3 separate regions of the Homo sapiens genome follow, and all the other regions are linked to region 1. Evidence: promoter capture Hi-C in 16 types of primary human blood cells and fetal thymus (Javierre and others, 2016). All regions are on one chromosome and are shown on one strand. Each heading gives the region's core, a stretch centred on a gene start or on the middle of the fragment in contact. The rest is flanking DNA. Distances are from core to core; before and after follow the strand shown.

Region 1 (5,029 bases), core at 1,384-3,883:
ATTTGAGGTCAGGAGTTCGAGACCAACCTGGTCATTGTGGCGAAAACCCATCTCTACTAAACATACAAAAATTAGCTGGGCATAGTGGCTCATGCTTATGATCCCAGCTATGTGGGAGGTGGAGGCAGGAAAATCACTTGAACCCAGGAGGCAGAGGTTGCAGTGAGCGGAGATCACACCACTGCACTCCAGCCTGGGCGACAGAGTGAAGTAACTGGTAAAAAATAATACAGTCAATACACTAGAATATATATGTGTGTTTTTAAATAGTAGAATTAATAAATCAAAGGTTGATTTTTTTTTAGGAAAAATTGCTGAATCAATAGTCTAATAGGAGAATGATAGATTATTTGCTTTGAATGTAATGAATGGGATTTAATTATTTTTGTCTAATTACAGGAGCAATATATGCTCAACAATGAAAATAAAATAAAATGTTTATGTTGACCTTGGGTGCAACATAAGTAAAACCCTTTCATAGTTTGACCCCCATTTTACTTGTAACATGCTTGTTTTAAGTCAATGGATTTTTTATATTTCTTCTACAGTATTATCGCCCCTTACCCCACTGCATCTACAGTCTCTCATCACCTAAGATTGTTCATCTCAGAAACATCATTGACAAGTTATTTCTATTATTTTTCTGTATTGTCATGTGTTTTTTGACCTTGACACTTCAAATCCGTAATTAACACCTTCCTTCCTGGATAACTACAGACACTTCTGAGTTGGTGTAACTGGTTCTGCAGTGCCCACTGTGGTATGCTATCCATCAGGACATGTGGTCTTTGGGTCAAGGAATTCAGCCACTGTTACAATCTTGGCCAGGCAGGCTTAGGCATGGGCTAGTGGAATCTTGGTTTAATATCCGTATCTCTTTCCTCCTACTTTCCAATTTCCTGCTGATGCCTCCTATCGGCGGCAACCAACTGGAAGCCAGAGGGCCAGGCAGCCTGGATAGTGCAGTCTTTTTGCCTGTTCAGGTCAGTTGATGCAGAGCTGGAAGAGCTGGGAGGAACCACTAGAAGGTGGAATGGAGAATATCCAGCATGCTAGCAGCAATCTTGCCCTTCCTCTCTTCTTCCCAGAGATAATATGGCCACCTTGAATTTTGTTCTTTTCCCGAATTTGACACACTCCGTCTGGATTCTTGCCTTTGCAAATACAGGTTTCTCCTGCAGGAATTTCCTTACCCAACTTCTTTGTGTGGCAAACTCCTACTTACTCTTTAAGATCCAACTCAAATATCATCACTCTCCTATTGACACACATGAGGAGGCAGCAAGGCACTCTAAATAGAACAAAGAAACATCAGGTCAGCTCCTCAATCTGTCACTTACTAGTTAATGTGACTTTGTGTGGGGGTACTTTTGTGATTCTAAGTTTCCTCTTTGGCAAAATAGGAATGGGAATACAGTAGGCCTTTGCTGTCCACTGGTTGCACACAGAGAATTCAACACACGGGATGGAAAATATTCGGGAAAAAACCCCACAGTTGAAAATAACAATACAACAATTAAAAAATAATATGAATAAAAGTACAGTGTAACAACTATTTACATAGCATTTACAGTGTATTAGGTATTGTAAGCAATCTAGAGATGATTTAAAGCATATAGGAGGATGTGTGTAGGTTATATGCAAATACTACACCATTTTATAAAAGAGACTTAAGCATGGGTGGATTTGGGTATCTGCGGGGGTCCTGGAACCAATTACCTAGGGATACCGAGGGCCCACTTTACCTGCCTTGACATCCCTTTCCCAGGGAACGTGAAATGATCAGACCGAGAAAATGCAAATCATTTTCCAAATGTAATTTTGTTGTTGTTCTTACCGCTGCTTATAATTAAAAAAAAAATAATTTGCTCAGCTCGATCACTGTGCACGGTGCAAAAAATCAACTTTGGTACCATTCAGCAAATCATACCCCCACGTCCCGCCTTTATTTTCCTTTTTTGCAGCCCGGTTTCTCTCTTCTGCTCACTCATACCCGCCCACCCCGCTTTTGTAGCTTGCTTGTTCATATCTGAACTTGGGTATCCAAAGACACTGCTTGACTTTGCAGGTACATTTCACAGTTAAAGAGGGTTCGTCATTTAGTAGTCGGGGATGGGGAGAACTGTCACAAAGCAAAAGTCTACATTCTAAATCGTGAAGTTCTGGGAGCTGAGAATCAGATTGGCAGGGCCAAGAACGAATCCGTCGACGAGCCGGGAGGCGGGGCTCCTGCTGGGGCCTCTGCAGCCCGCGCTGGGTTCCCGAATTCCCGCGCTGTAAGCCGGAACCCCAGGCCAGCGGGCGCCGCGGCGGGCCCGGAGATCGGTGCAGGACGCACGGCCTAGCCAGAACTACAACTCCCGACGTGCGCGGCGGCCAACGCTGGTTCTATCCCTGCTTGTTGCTTTTTTTTTTCCCTCCGCTTCTTGCGACGGAGACTGCTGTCCAGGAAGTGCGCAGTAGTGATTCTAGAGAGGCTGGAAGCTCTCCTGGCGACGCTGGGGCCGCGAAGGGCTCACGTAATGACTCCTACTCCTGGTGAGCGCAGGCGTTGCGGAACTCACCGTCCCACAGGACGTGTTTCCGGGGGTACATTAATTGTGGCTGGACGCAGTGGCGCGGCAGTTTAATTCTCCGGCGGCTGCAGATTGACGGGACGAGATGGTCCTGGCAGGGCTCATCAGGAAACTCGGTAACTGTCAGCTTGCCCCTCGCCCAAGGCACCCCCCGCGCTCTGGCCACTTGCTGAGAATGGTCGTGTCACGTTTCCGCGGCCGGCCGCTCCGCGACCGCTCCCTCTTTCACCCCCGCTTTGTCAGGATAGCCCCCGGGGACCCATCTCGGACTTTGTGTAAACTTCGCGGTTCGCGTCCCGAAGGCACCAGTGGCCTGCTTCTGAAAAAAACTGGTTTATTCCGTCTTCACGCCGCTCCTGCCCACAGCATAAATAACGTAGTCTCTTTGCAGTCGGGAAATAAAATAGTTTTGTGCCGTTCGTTGACAGGTCATCAGCTGGCCGAGATCAGGGAGCGCGCTCTCAAGAGTATTCTCTGCAAGATTGAGCACAACTTAATCTGCTACGCTGATCTCATTCAGGAGAGGCAACTTTTTCTTCATTTGCTGGAATGGTTCAATTTCCCGTCCGTTCCGATGAAGGAAGAGGTTCTGAACCTGTTAAGCAGATTGGTTAAGGTAGGGTCATTTTGAAATAAAGAAAATAATCAGACGAGTGACTTGTTTCTTAGTCATTTAATTGTAGCGTTTATTGAAAGTTAAATAATTGGGGTTAAAAGTTTTTTTAATCAACCAGAGATGTTTAATTTTAATTAATCTGGGTATATGGTTCATCTTTTATTTGTGATACTGAATCCCACATGGTCTCTGCTGTGCTCAGAAGTAACACAGAACTTCTTTTGAGTTTTGGTATGTTCTGTGTTTTTGAGTTATCTTTGGAGGTTAATATTTGTATTCTGTTTTTGTTTTCTGACATTTACATCTTAAAAACTAGATATGTCAGTATGAAAGGGAGCACTTTAAAAATAATGTTACATAACCGTGATTCATAAATACCAATGTTAAGTTGCTTGCCCATATGCTTTTAGATTGGTATTCTTATGCCTACCTCAAGAGTAGTTAGTTATCGGGGTCAGATATCAAAGTGTAAGTTTAACCTTTCAAAACTAAATCACTGTACAATGGTAGAGGAATCTTAAACTACTTTGACATCCTGTTGACCGGTTGGGGCTGGGACCATAAGGTGAGTGTCAGTGGAAAAAAGTAACCCATTAAAAAAATAAGAGTAGGGATTGATAATGTGCATTTCTAGCGTTCAGTGTGTTGGCTCATCTTTCATAAATGTTATCAAGTGTTGGATGTATGTCTCTATAGGTGTATGTGCTCCTCATGGAAGTGCCTTACTTCGGGGCAGAGCCATGAAGGATTTGTTTTTCAGAAAAGGAACATCTGATATACCAAAAATAATTTTATGTTTTGATTGCTGTAAGTTATAGAGATTTTGATACAGTTATTCTCAAGATCATCCTCTTCTTATTTTAGTATCCCCCAGCAGTCCAACATTTGGTTGACGTTGGTGCAGTAGAGTTCTTATCTAAGCTTCGGTCTAATGTGGAGCCAAATCTGCAGGCTGAAATTGATGGCATTCTGGATGGACTTTTTCTTCTTCCTTCGGAAGTTCCTGCACTATCTTCTGCCTCATACCAAACCAATCAAACTGGTAACTCTTTGGAATCTGTTAAATACAAATATATTAATTCTAATGGTAAATTTTAAGGAAAGGGAGATTAGATTTTTTTAAAAAGGATTTCTCCCACCTCCCCCAAACTTATTTTTCTTGTGTTAACTTACATGATTTTGACCTTTTTCCCCTCCTCTACTGTTAGTCAAAGGATGGTACATTTGCATTAATTGCTTTTTGGGTCAGGCCTAAACGATGCCAGTGACTTTGCTTTTATGAGGCCAGTTTGACAGATTATTTTTTTGGCAATAACAATGTATTTTTATTGAGCACATGAGTGCTCATTGTTCTTAGTGCTTTATATTTGTATTTTTGACCTTGTTCGTCATATTGGAGTATAATGATATCTGTCCTAGCTCATGATCTTGTTGTGGGGACCAATCAAAACGACATAATGCAAGTATTTTTATATGCTGCAGTCCATCATGATATACTTGTTAAAATCCAAGTCAAAGAGACATGGATTTAAGTCTCAGTTCTGCTGCTAGTTGTGTGACCTTGGCTAAGGTAATTAACCCTTCCAGGCTTCAGTTTTCTCATTCAAAAACTGGGATAATAAGAAAGAACACCGGGCTGGGCATGGTGGCTCACGCCTGTAATCCCGGCACTTTGGGAAGCCGAGGCAGGTGGTCAGAAGTTCAAGACCAGCCTGACCAACATGGTGCCCCGTCACTACTAAAAATACAATACAAAAATTAGCCGGACATAGTGGCGGGCGCCTGTAATCCCAGCTAGTAGGGAGGCTGAGGCAGGAGAATCACTTGAACCCGGGGG
Region 2 (5,029 bases), core at 1,238-3,737, 210 kb before region 1:
TGACCATGCTCTTTTTTCAATACAGAAGATAGATGCCCAGGTATTACCGGATTGTAACAAAGCTACCAAAGAAGTATGATCATTGCTTAAAGAAATATTTGTGCAAAGCGGGGAAAATAGCCTTACAGTCAGGAGCATTAATCCCACCTAAGCCAGCCAAAATTAGAATGCTTGACAGCACAATTTGAAGGAGAAGGAAATGAGCAAAGAAGATGACGACTGACATTTAGGTTGGCCAGTGGGTTATTAGTCATAATAAAGAAAGGCAAAAACAATAATAAAGTAGAAAAGATTTGCCCCATTAGTCAGCAGTGTAAAGAAGCAGGTGTAAATGATAGCACTGAACATTGGAAGATGTGGACCATGCCGGAGAAATTGTCCCTGCGGAAGCATTCAACTGTTGTAGTCAAACAATGTTGTAATTATTCTTACACTCTTGTAGGCCCATCACTATATATATTTATTCAATATTTATTTATTGAACATCTACTTATATATAACTACCTTAATCACTTTAGTACCTATGGAGACGAATAATTTCTGCATTTAAGAACTTTTCTGGCTAGGCATGGTGGCTCATGCCTGTAATCTCAGCACTTTGGGGGGCTAAGGTGGATCGCCTGAGGTCAGGAGTTCAAGACCAGCCTGGCCAACATGGAGAAACCCCGTCTCTACGAAAAATACAAAAATTAACTGGGCGTGGTGGCGGGCACCTGTAATCCCAGCTACTCGGGAGGCTAAGGCAGAAGAATTGCTTGAACATGGGAGGCAGAGGTTGCAGTGAGCCGAGGTCATGCCACTGCACTCCAGCCTGGGTGAAAGAGTGAGACTCTGTCTCAAAAGAAAAAAAAAAGAACTTTTCTGTTACGTAAGGGCAACAGCTAATGATAACCCACTATAAGTACTATTGCACTGATAAATAAAAAGAACAATGAGCAAAAATATTCTTACCAAAAATCTTATGCTCAAGGTGAGATTAAAGCTTGCTTCAAAGAACGGATAAGATTTTAACAGGCATGTTGAGAGGAAAACTATTCTAGGAAGATTAAACAGAAAGAGCAAAGGTATTCCTTAAAATGGTTTACAAAACCCTTCCAAAGTTGACCCCACCACTCACAGTGCCTCATTGTCTGTAATCCCAGCACTTTGGGAGGCTAAGGTGGGAGGACTGCTTGAGCCTGGGAGGTCGAGGCTACAGTGAGCCATAATCTCACCACTGTACTTCAGCCTGGGTGGCAGAACAAGAATCTGTCTCAGACACACAAAAAAAGCTGATCCCCACTTAAATTTCCTGCTTATAATTCTCCCCACTCACCAAACTTCCTGCATCCTCCTATTTGTCATGTTTTCTGAAACCTCAGGACCAGAAACAGTTTTTTCCTAAACTTCTATACCTAGAAAACTCCTGATTTCCACTAGAATAGAAAGTAATTATTTCAGGCTTTGAAGACTATGCGGTCTGACTCACAACTATTCAATTTTGCTGTTATGCTGTGAAAATAGCCATGAACAATATTTAAATGAATGAGCAGGCCGTGTTGCAATATAACTTTATTTACAAAAACAGGAAGAGGATTGGATTTGGCCCACAGGTCATAGTTTGCTAACCCCTGCTATGGTGCAACATCACTCTCTCCTGGAAGGGAATGATGTTTTTAGTCCCAAGAAATATATGGAATGCAACTGTCTCATGTACTATTGGTTGTTTAATTGAAATTCAAATTTAACTGAGCGTCCTGTGTTCTATCTGGCAATCCTAATAAATGTCCATCAGAACTTCCTGTCTTCATAACAGCAATGCCAAAAATCCTAAGCGCTCAATTTCTGGTAAAACGTGTGTCTCTCGCTTTTCTCCAGCGGACGTTTCCCCCATCCCTTCATCTTCAATTCCCATTCCCCCAGACTCTCTCCCCTCTACAAGTTTGTTAATTGTTTTTAGAGAATGAGAAAGTAATTTTCATTTCTTTAATGAGTGTTTAAAGAATTAAGGAACGTTTGTCATGGCAGATACAGAAAATAACAGTCTCAAGATTCTCTCATTCCCTGGGTTTTATACCGTTGTATTAATCTAAAAGCTACCCATTTCATCATCTCCTTTTAATTCTCCCTGATGATTCAGGAGCTGTACTGCCTGTGGTTGGATTTGCTGCGATAACTTATCTCCATAGGACAGGAATTTATGAACTGGTTGCATTTAGATTGGAGCTGTTTTCAAGAGTCTCCTGAGCTGACCTTTTAGAGTAAACCTCTAATCTCCAATGCAGAATTAAAGACTCTGCTTCTTATGAAAGAAATCACAGGCACCAGCTACTCTTGAAGAATGTTTTCTTGTTGTGGGAGGTGGGGAGTGGGGCAGGAGTTAGCAACTGAGTGGAGAGGAATCTTAGAACCCGCGGGCTCTGCCGGCCGCAGCTGTCTCGGCACCTTTTTTCTCAGTCACTGGGGTCACAGCTCTTTCCTCTGTGTCCTCCTCTTCTTCAGGTAACTCACCCTCTGCCCTCCTAGCTGTTCACACTAACATACACCATTTATATTCTAAGGGAGCATTAGTGTGTGTTTTTAATGATTAACTGCTCTAACACAGGTGCCTTCTGGCCGCTTCCACCCAAAACCTCCTTCAGCTGAGACCCTGCGAAGTCTTTCTGCCCCTCCTATGGTCGGGGTCATAGCAGTGACAATATGGCTCTGGTGTGGGAGGTGGCAGGGGAGACTTAGGGTCAACCCTGCTCTAAATCACTGTCATCTTCAACTGCAGAATATAACTAATACTGAAACCCACAGACCACAGAGAAGAAACACCCACACTTCCAACTCAGATTATAAAGCACAAACCCTTCTGTCTCATCTCCCACGTGCCTCCCGCCTCACCTATCCATAAGCTGCCCTTCATGCTGCTGGAAGAATATTCTTTCTGAAACATCAATGCTCACCTGTCTCTCCTGTGCCCAGGACCAGCCCTGGTATCTAGGGGCTGCAGGGCAGAATCCAGGCTTGCCTTCACAGTCTCCTCCTTTGGGCATCTCTACTATCCCAGCCTCGTTCTTCAGTGCAATCCACAGTCAGCTTCACACGGCTGTGCGATCCTCAAGCGTGAGTGTGTTTTCTGTGCCACTCACTCTTTCATCCATTCAGTCAACAGATATTAACTGAATATCTGACTTAAGCCAGGCGCAGTGAAACACACTGGGGATAAACTGGTGGAATGAACTTACAGTCCATTGACGGATGAAGAGAACTGAACAGGGTCAGACAGAGTGATGAGAGCCCAGGGAGCACATAGGAGGAACAATTCAGAGAGGGAAGGACGTTCTGGATTTTTCTTTGCCACATCAGGCAACTCTGTGTGTGTGTGTGTGTGTGTGTGTGTGTGTGTGTGTGTGTGTGTGTAACTCTATACTTGTAATGTGGAGTCATCCCAGCAAAGATGCCTGACTGAGGTCTCCCTATTTTTATTTGTGTCCTCTTGTGTTCCTTACTTTATCACTGCCATTTTGCCTATTACCATTAAATTGTTTTACAAAGAACAATACACCTATTCTCCAGATTAACCCCCAAAACAAATTTAAATACATTGCACCTAGCCAGCTGCAAAATCCCTATTTCTACTTGGGTCTGGGAATTATAGTATCCACCAATAACAGTACAAACAGATCGCTGACATTTGTACTACAGATGGTAATTTGACACATTTATTGCTCTCAGACCAAAGATATTCCTGGAGGAATTAATTTTAATTTCTTTCTAGCTATTTTTTTATTACCAATAGACAATTACTTAGATAGCATCTTGAGTAAACGCACCCCTTGTATCCTAAGCATCCTTTTTAGCCAACTCAATGGATGAGCAAACACATTGCCTCCTCTGATAAGTGTGTTGCCTTTAGATCCCAGCATCACGATCCATCTCTCAGACCTGCAGGAAATGAGATGCTATCACGTCAAGTATTTGCTTTATTTGTCTGGGGAAAATTAGCTCTTCAATTTCAAGCTTAAGGGTCCTGGGCAGAGTCGTGTTCTAGAAAGATATGTTGCACTGTGTTGCATTGAACCTGAATCCGTAATCTCAGAGGAAGGTGGGGCCAGCAGAGTCTCCAGAACTCAGCTCAGGCAACAGCTCCACGGTAGCAGGACAGCAGGTGTCACCTCTGACATCTCGCGAGCCTCCGCTCCATGGGACTTTCATCGATGAATTGACCAATAACATTTTTTCCAGTAAAATAAAATCATTTTAATGAAATAACAAAATAAAATTGGGGAAGGTTTTTGAGATTATTTTCTTTAACCAGTATTCCAATACTTTCATATACTGTATAATTTTAATGTTCTCTTAATTGTCTTTTTTTAGTAGTATTATTATTTTAGTTTTTTTGTTTTGTTTTGTTTTGTTTGAGATGGAACCTCACTCTGTCGCCCAGGCTAGAGTGCAGTGGCATGATCTCGGCTCACTGCAACCTCCGCCTCGCGGGTTCAAGCGATTCTCCTGCCTTAGCCTCCCAAGTAGCTGGGATTACAGGTGCATGCCACCACACCCAGCTAATTTTTGTATTTTTAGTAGAAACGGGGTTTCACCATGTTGGCCAGGCTGGTCTCGAACTCCTGACCTCAGGTGTTCCACCCACCTCAGGCTCCTGAAGTGCTGGGATTACAGGCATAAACCACTGTGCCCAGCCCAAAGCCACCACGCCTGGCCCTGTTATCTTAATTTTCAAAAATAAAACACTCCCAGAGACTTAAGGATATTTAAAAAGTTTTGAAGATAAATTCTAACTGCGGCTACATCCGGAGGGAGAGATTATGGGATTAGTTCTACTTTTTTATTTTCTATATTTTGTATGTTTGAATTTCTTTCAGAGATAATATACTTTCTCATAGTACACATACATTTTTTGCAACCAGAAAAAGTAATTTTCGCAGGTTGCAAACTTCCAATTCCTGTTCTATGTAAAGCAAGCTCTCAGTGAATGTGCATCACATATATTTTTGCCTACACCGTGATGCCATGCGCTGATAAATGCTTCATAAATATTAGT
Region 3 (5,029 bases), core at 1,203-3,702, 190 kb before region 1:
CCAATTTTATTTCAAATTTGTAGTATCACTAGAAATAATAGAATTTTCTACCAGAGAAGCACATGCTTTAGGGACCTATCCCATTGACCAGTTTTAGCTCATATAAAGTCACTGAACACAGGCTGGTATAACTAGAAGCAGATCGCTGGGAATAGGTAAATCTTTCTTCTGAGAATAGAATTCAATTTGTGGTAATGACTGTGTGTTTTCACTGGCCCACAAAAAGCCATGAGGTTACCTTTGGTACTTGAAGCCTTTGATTTAGAGGCAGGTCTATGCCTACTTTTCCCAAGGGAAAGGGAATGCTACTTTGGCAAGGATTGTGGAAATGAAGAATGTTGATTGCTAGGAGCAGAAAAGTCAATGAAAAAAAAAACAATGGAAGAAAAGAGTGCAAAGTAAAGGCTATTAATGAAAGGTATCAAATCTAAAAGTATGTGGTAAGTGGACCAATTAGTGGATCATCTCTTAGATTGGCCCCAAAAAATAGTTTTTTGTGTTTTTGATTTTTGGGGAGGGGGAACAGGGTCTCACTCTGTCATTCAGGCTGGAGTACAGTGGTGTGATCATAGCTCAGCCTTGATCTCCTGGTCTCAAATGATACTCCCACCTCAGACTCCCAAGTGGCTAGGACTACAAGCATATGCCACCACAGTCAGCTAGTTTTAAAAAGTTTTTTGTACAGACAGAGTCTCACAATGTTGCCCAGGCTGGTCTCAAATTCCTGGCCTCAAGTGATCATCCCGCATTGGCCTCCCAAAGTGCTGGGGTTACAGGCATGAGACACCATGCCTGGCCCCAAAACTCAGTTTTAATGGATGATCCGAGAATGAGTCAAAGGACAGCTTTAATTCACTCATCTATACTCAGATGACTGTACTCAGAGAAATAAGAATAAAGAAACAAAAGCAAAAGAAGCAGCAGACATTCACCCAGAAATCTGCGTATTGTCAAATTTACAGAATTATGTAATAAAATATTAGTTTGGCTTTCACCAAAAACTGGATCAATTGTTTGTACTGATATAGATACTGATGTATACTAAATACAATAGAAAGTTGCGTAATAAGATGTAACCGACTCACATTCATGGATTATGCATTGTATAAATGCTTCATTGTTAGCAGAACCAAAGCTTCCCAGGAAAATAACTTCCAATTCCCTTTGCAATAAAATCCTACTTGTATATATTAAGAAACTTCTCAGACCTTCATTCTCTTTTGAATAACCTGAAAATAACTTTATTATTTTCATTTTTCTGCATTTCTTGTGTGAATTTCCACTAAGCTGAATGAAACAAATCATTTACTTCTCAATAGACGTGAGACGACCAATTGTTATCTCATATAAAAGGAAAGACTACATGTTGTTGATATCAAAGGCATTCAGGTTTTGGAAGTTATTTGTGAAAGTTTAAAAGAGGACAAAATAAGAAATTGCTACAAAAATCAACCAAGTTCATTCAGTTCCAGTGCATAATCACTGATCAAGTATCTGTTTTGCACTAGGCATTGTACTGTGTTCACAGAATTCTAAGATGAATACGATATATTCCCTCTAGAAGCATATGTATTAGTGGGTAAACAGACATGTAAAATAAATAAACATTTCTATGTAATGCACAAGTGCTACGATAGAGGCATCAGTTGAAATTGTAAGTATTCAAATAATGGAATTTTAAAAATCCATACACAACACATTTTCAATCAAACAAGAAGCAAGGGAGATATATAGTGGTTTTTTTTAAGTACTTGTAATAGACTGAACAATGGCTTCCAAAATGTCCATGTCCTAATCTCTGGAAGCTGTGAATATGTGAGGGTACACGGCGGAGGGGAGTTGCAGATGAATTAAGGATGCCAATCAGATTGCTTAAATTAGGAAGACTATCTTGAATTATCCAGCTAGGCCCATGTAAACATCCTTAAAATCTTTAAAAATGAAAGAGAAAGACAGAAGGAGTCAGAGTCAGCCAGAGGGTTATGACTATGAAAGAAAGGCACAAAGAGAGGTAGCACTGCTGGCCTTCGAAATGGAGAAAAGGACCACGAGCCAAGGAATGCAGGCAGCATGCAGAAGCTGGAAACACAGTGGAGACAGAGTCTCCCCTATAGCCCCCAGAAATGAACGTGGCCTGGACTTCTGTCCTCAAGATCAGTTTGATAATAAATGTGTGGGGTTCTTTTGTTTTTGTTTTGCTTTGTTTTGGAGACAGGGTCTCATTCTGTCACCCAGGCTGGAGGGCAGTGACACGGTCTCGGCTCACCGCAACCTCCACCTCCCAGGTTCAGGCGATTCTCCTGTCTCAGGCTTCTGAGTAGCTGGGATTACAGGTGTACACCACCATGTCCGGCTAATTTTTGTATTTTTTTAGTAGAGACAGGGTTTCACCAAGTTGGCCAGGCTGGCCTCAAACTCCTGGCCTCAAGTGATCTGCCCGCCTCAGCCTCCCAAAATGCTGGGATAACAGGTGTGAGCCACCACGCCCGGCCAGATGTGTGTTGTTTTTAAACACTAAACTTACAGTAATTTATGACAGCAGCAGCAGGAAACCAACACAATACCCAAGAGGGATGAGATCTACAGGATTCTATTTAGCATCCTAAGAAGTTTTCTGAATTTAAAATTTCTGAGGTCATGATCTACTCTAAGTTCTTTTTCACCTTTTTCATTGTGAGCTTTTGAAGGAAGCAAGGAGAGCATGGGGAAGGGAAGGAGAAACTCATACGTGTGTCCTAAGTACTGAGTGCTGAGATGGGACTCTTCCCCTAGATTATCTCATTGGATCCTCACAGAAAGTCCTGGAACGATGATTTTATTGTCCCATCTTCACAGATAAAGAAATGGAGATTCCGAGCATTAAAGATACAATGCTGATACACTTCTCTCAGACTGCAAAGCCCTTGCTCAATCAATACGCCAGGCTACTGCAAATAAAATCCTAGGCTCCAACACACCGTGGGCTCAGGGGCCTAGGAAAGACCACCATCCTGCCCAAAGGCCTCCTCAGTCTTTTGGTAGCAAAGACAAAAAGAGACTATTTTCTATTTAAATACCATATCTCATCAATACTAGGATTCACCTTTGACATAGTTTGTGATATGGTTAAACTGTGTGTTCCCACCCAAATCTCATCTTGAATGGTAATCCCCGTAATCCCCACATGTCAAAGGAGAGACCAGGTGGAGGTAACTGAAACATGGGGGTGGTTTCTCCCATGCTGTTCTCATGATAGTGAGTGAGTTCTCACAAGATCTGATGGTTTTATAAGAAGCTCTTCCCTTTTCACTCGGCACTTCTTCCTGCCGACTTGTGAAGAAGGTGCCTTGCTTCCCTTTTGCCTTCCGCCATGATTGTAAGTTTCCTGAGGCCTCCCCAGCCATGCTGAACTGTGAGTCAATTAATCCCCTTTTCTTTATAAATTACCCAGTCTCAGGCAATTCTTCATAGCAGTGTGAGAACAGATTAATACAGTTTGGATACTTGTCTCCCCAAATCTCATGTTGAAATGTCATCCCCATTGTTGGAGGTGGGGCCTGGTGGGAGGTGATTGGATCATGGGGGTGGATGGATTTCCCATGAATGGTTTAGCACTATCCTATTGGTGCTGTCCTCACCGTAGTGAGTAGGTTCTCATGAGGTCGGGTTGTTTAAATGTGTGGCACCTCTCCCCCACTCTCTCTCACTCCCGCTCTTGCCATGTGAGGTGCCTACTCCCCCATGTGATGAGCCTGATCCCCCTTTGCTTTCTGCTATGATTGGAAGCTTCCTGAGGCTCTGACCAGAAGTATCTACCGGTGCCATGCTTCCTGTACAGGCTGCAGGAATGTGAGCCAATCAAACCTCGTTTCTTTATAAATTACTCAGTCTCAGGATTTTTTCTTTTCTTTTTTCTTTTCTTTTCTTTTCTTTTCTTTTTTTTTTTTTTTTTGAGATGGAGTCTCACTCTGTCGCCAGGCTGGAGTGCAGCGGCACGAAGTCGGCTCACTGCAACCTCTGCCTCCCGGGTTCAAGCTATTCTCCTGCCACAGCCTCCTGAGTAGCTGGGACTATAGGAATGCACCACCATGCCCAGCTAATTTTTGTATTTTTAGTATAGACGGGGCTACACCATGTTGGCCAGGATGGTCTCGATCTCTTGACCTTGTGATCTGCCTGCCTCGGCCTCCCAAAGTGCTGGGATTACAGGCGTGAGCCACTGCACCCAGCCTCAGGTATTTCTTTACAGCAATGCAAGAACAGCCTAATATAACCCTCTTTTCTGTCTCCTTTTTTTTTTCTTTTGAGGGAGGACCTCACACTGTCACCCAGGCTGGAGTGCAAGTGGTGCAATCTCAGCTCACTGCAACCTCTGCCTCCCGGGCTCAAGCGATTCTCCCACCTCAGCCTCCCAAGTAGCTGGGACAACAAGTGTGCATCACCATGTCTGGCTAATTTTTGTACTTTCTGTAGAGTGAGTATTTCACCACATTGCCCAGGCTGGTCTCAAACTCCTGGGCAAAGCAGTCCACCTGCCTCAGCTCAGTGCCACAAAGTGCTGTGATTAAGGCATGCACCACTGTGCCTGGCTTTGTTTTTATTTTTAATTGAAATTACAATGCATCTTATGTTCATAATGCCTTGCAAGTATAATTGAAAACATTTTTTCCTTCTTAGTGATACGTATAATTACAATGTGTTTTACAATGGAGACTTCTCAGGGTCAGTGAGTTAGCATAGAATGCATCCCTAAGCTAAGCACTGGACTGTTTTCAATATCAGGAAACATAAATCCCTTGCCCTGCAGCACAAAGAATATGGTCACCCATTTTTTAAAATATCAACCCACTAATCAAAATGTGGGTGTTTTTTCTCAGAATTTACTCTGTGCTAAGCAGTGGGCAAGAATCCTTAAAAGGTCACAAAAGAAATGGAAGATGGAGCCTCTACCCTCAAAAAACCCACATAAGAGGTAAAACTAACATGAAAAGTCATATGACGTATGACATACTTAGGGCCCTAACTGTGGCAGCAACTACGCAGGGGGATA

Evidence for each region. Contacts are between HindIII fragments. The CHiCAGO score rates a contact against its expected background, and 5 or more counts as called.
Region 2: a fragment that was not itself captured here is called in contact with the fragment with the promoter of RTTN in region 1 in 9 of 17 cell types (monocytes, M0 macrophages, M1 macrophages and 6 more); the score reaches 34.7 in monocytes.
Region 3: a contact is called between a fragment that was not itself captured here and the fragment with the promoter of RTTN in region 1, in 6 of 17 cell types (monocytes, M1 macrophages, M0 macrophages and 3 more). The highest score is 15.4, in monocytes.

The regions. Positions count from the first base shown.
Region 1 is chr18:70,203,291-70,208,319 of GRCh38, reverse strand. RTTN (rotatin) reads left to right here and starts at 2,633. Exons shown (of 49, transcript NM_173630.4): 1 at 2,633-2,692; 2 at 3,005-3,192; 3 at 4,057-4,234. The coding sequence starts at 2,662. It overlaps LOC105372180 (a long non-coding RNA gene), which reads right to left and starts at 2,531. Exons shown (of 3, transcript XR_935599.3): 1 at 1,746-2,531; 2 at 1,226-1,291. RefSeq lists enhancers at 2,234-2,473, 1,936-2,565, 2,484-2,593, 2,804-2,933. The HindIII fragment of the contact is 5,232 bases long and covers 1-4,115 here.
Region 2 is chr18:70,416,869-70,421,897 of GRCh38, reverse strand. No RefSeq gene overlaps it. Among named protein-coding and RNA genes, the nearest start is that of LINC01910, 35 kb to the right of the region's middle. The HindIII fragment of the contact is 3,005 bases long and covers 985-3,989 here.
Region 3 is chr18:70,393,493-70,398,521 of GRCh38, reverse strand. No RefSeq gene overlaps it. Among named protein-coding and RNA genes, the nearest start is that of LINC01910, 11 kb to the right of the region's middle. The HindIII fragment of the contact is 2,630 bases long and covers 1,138-3,767 here.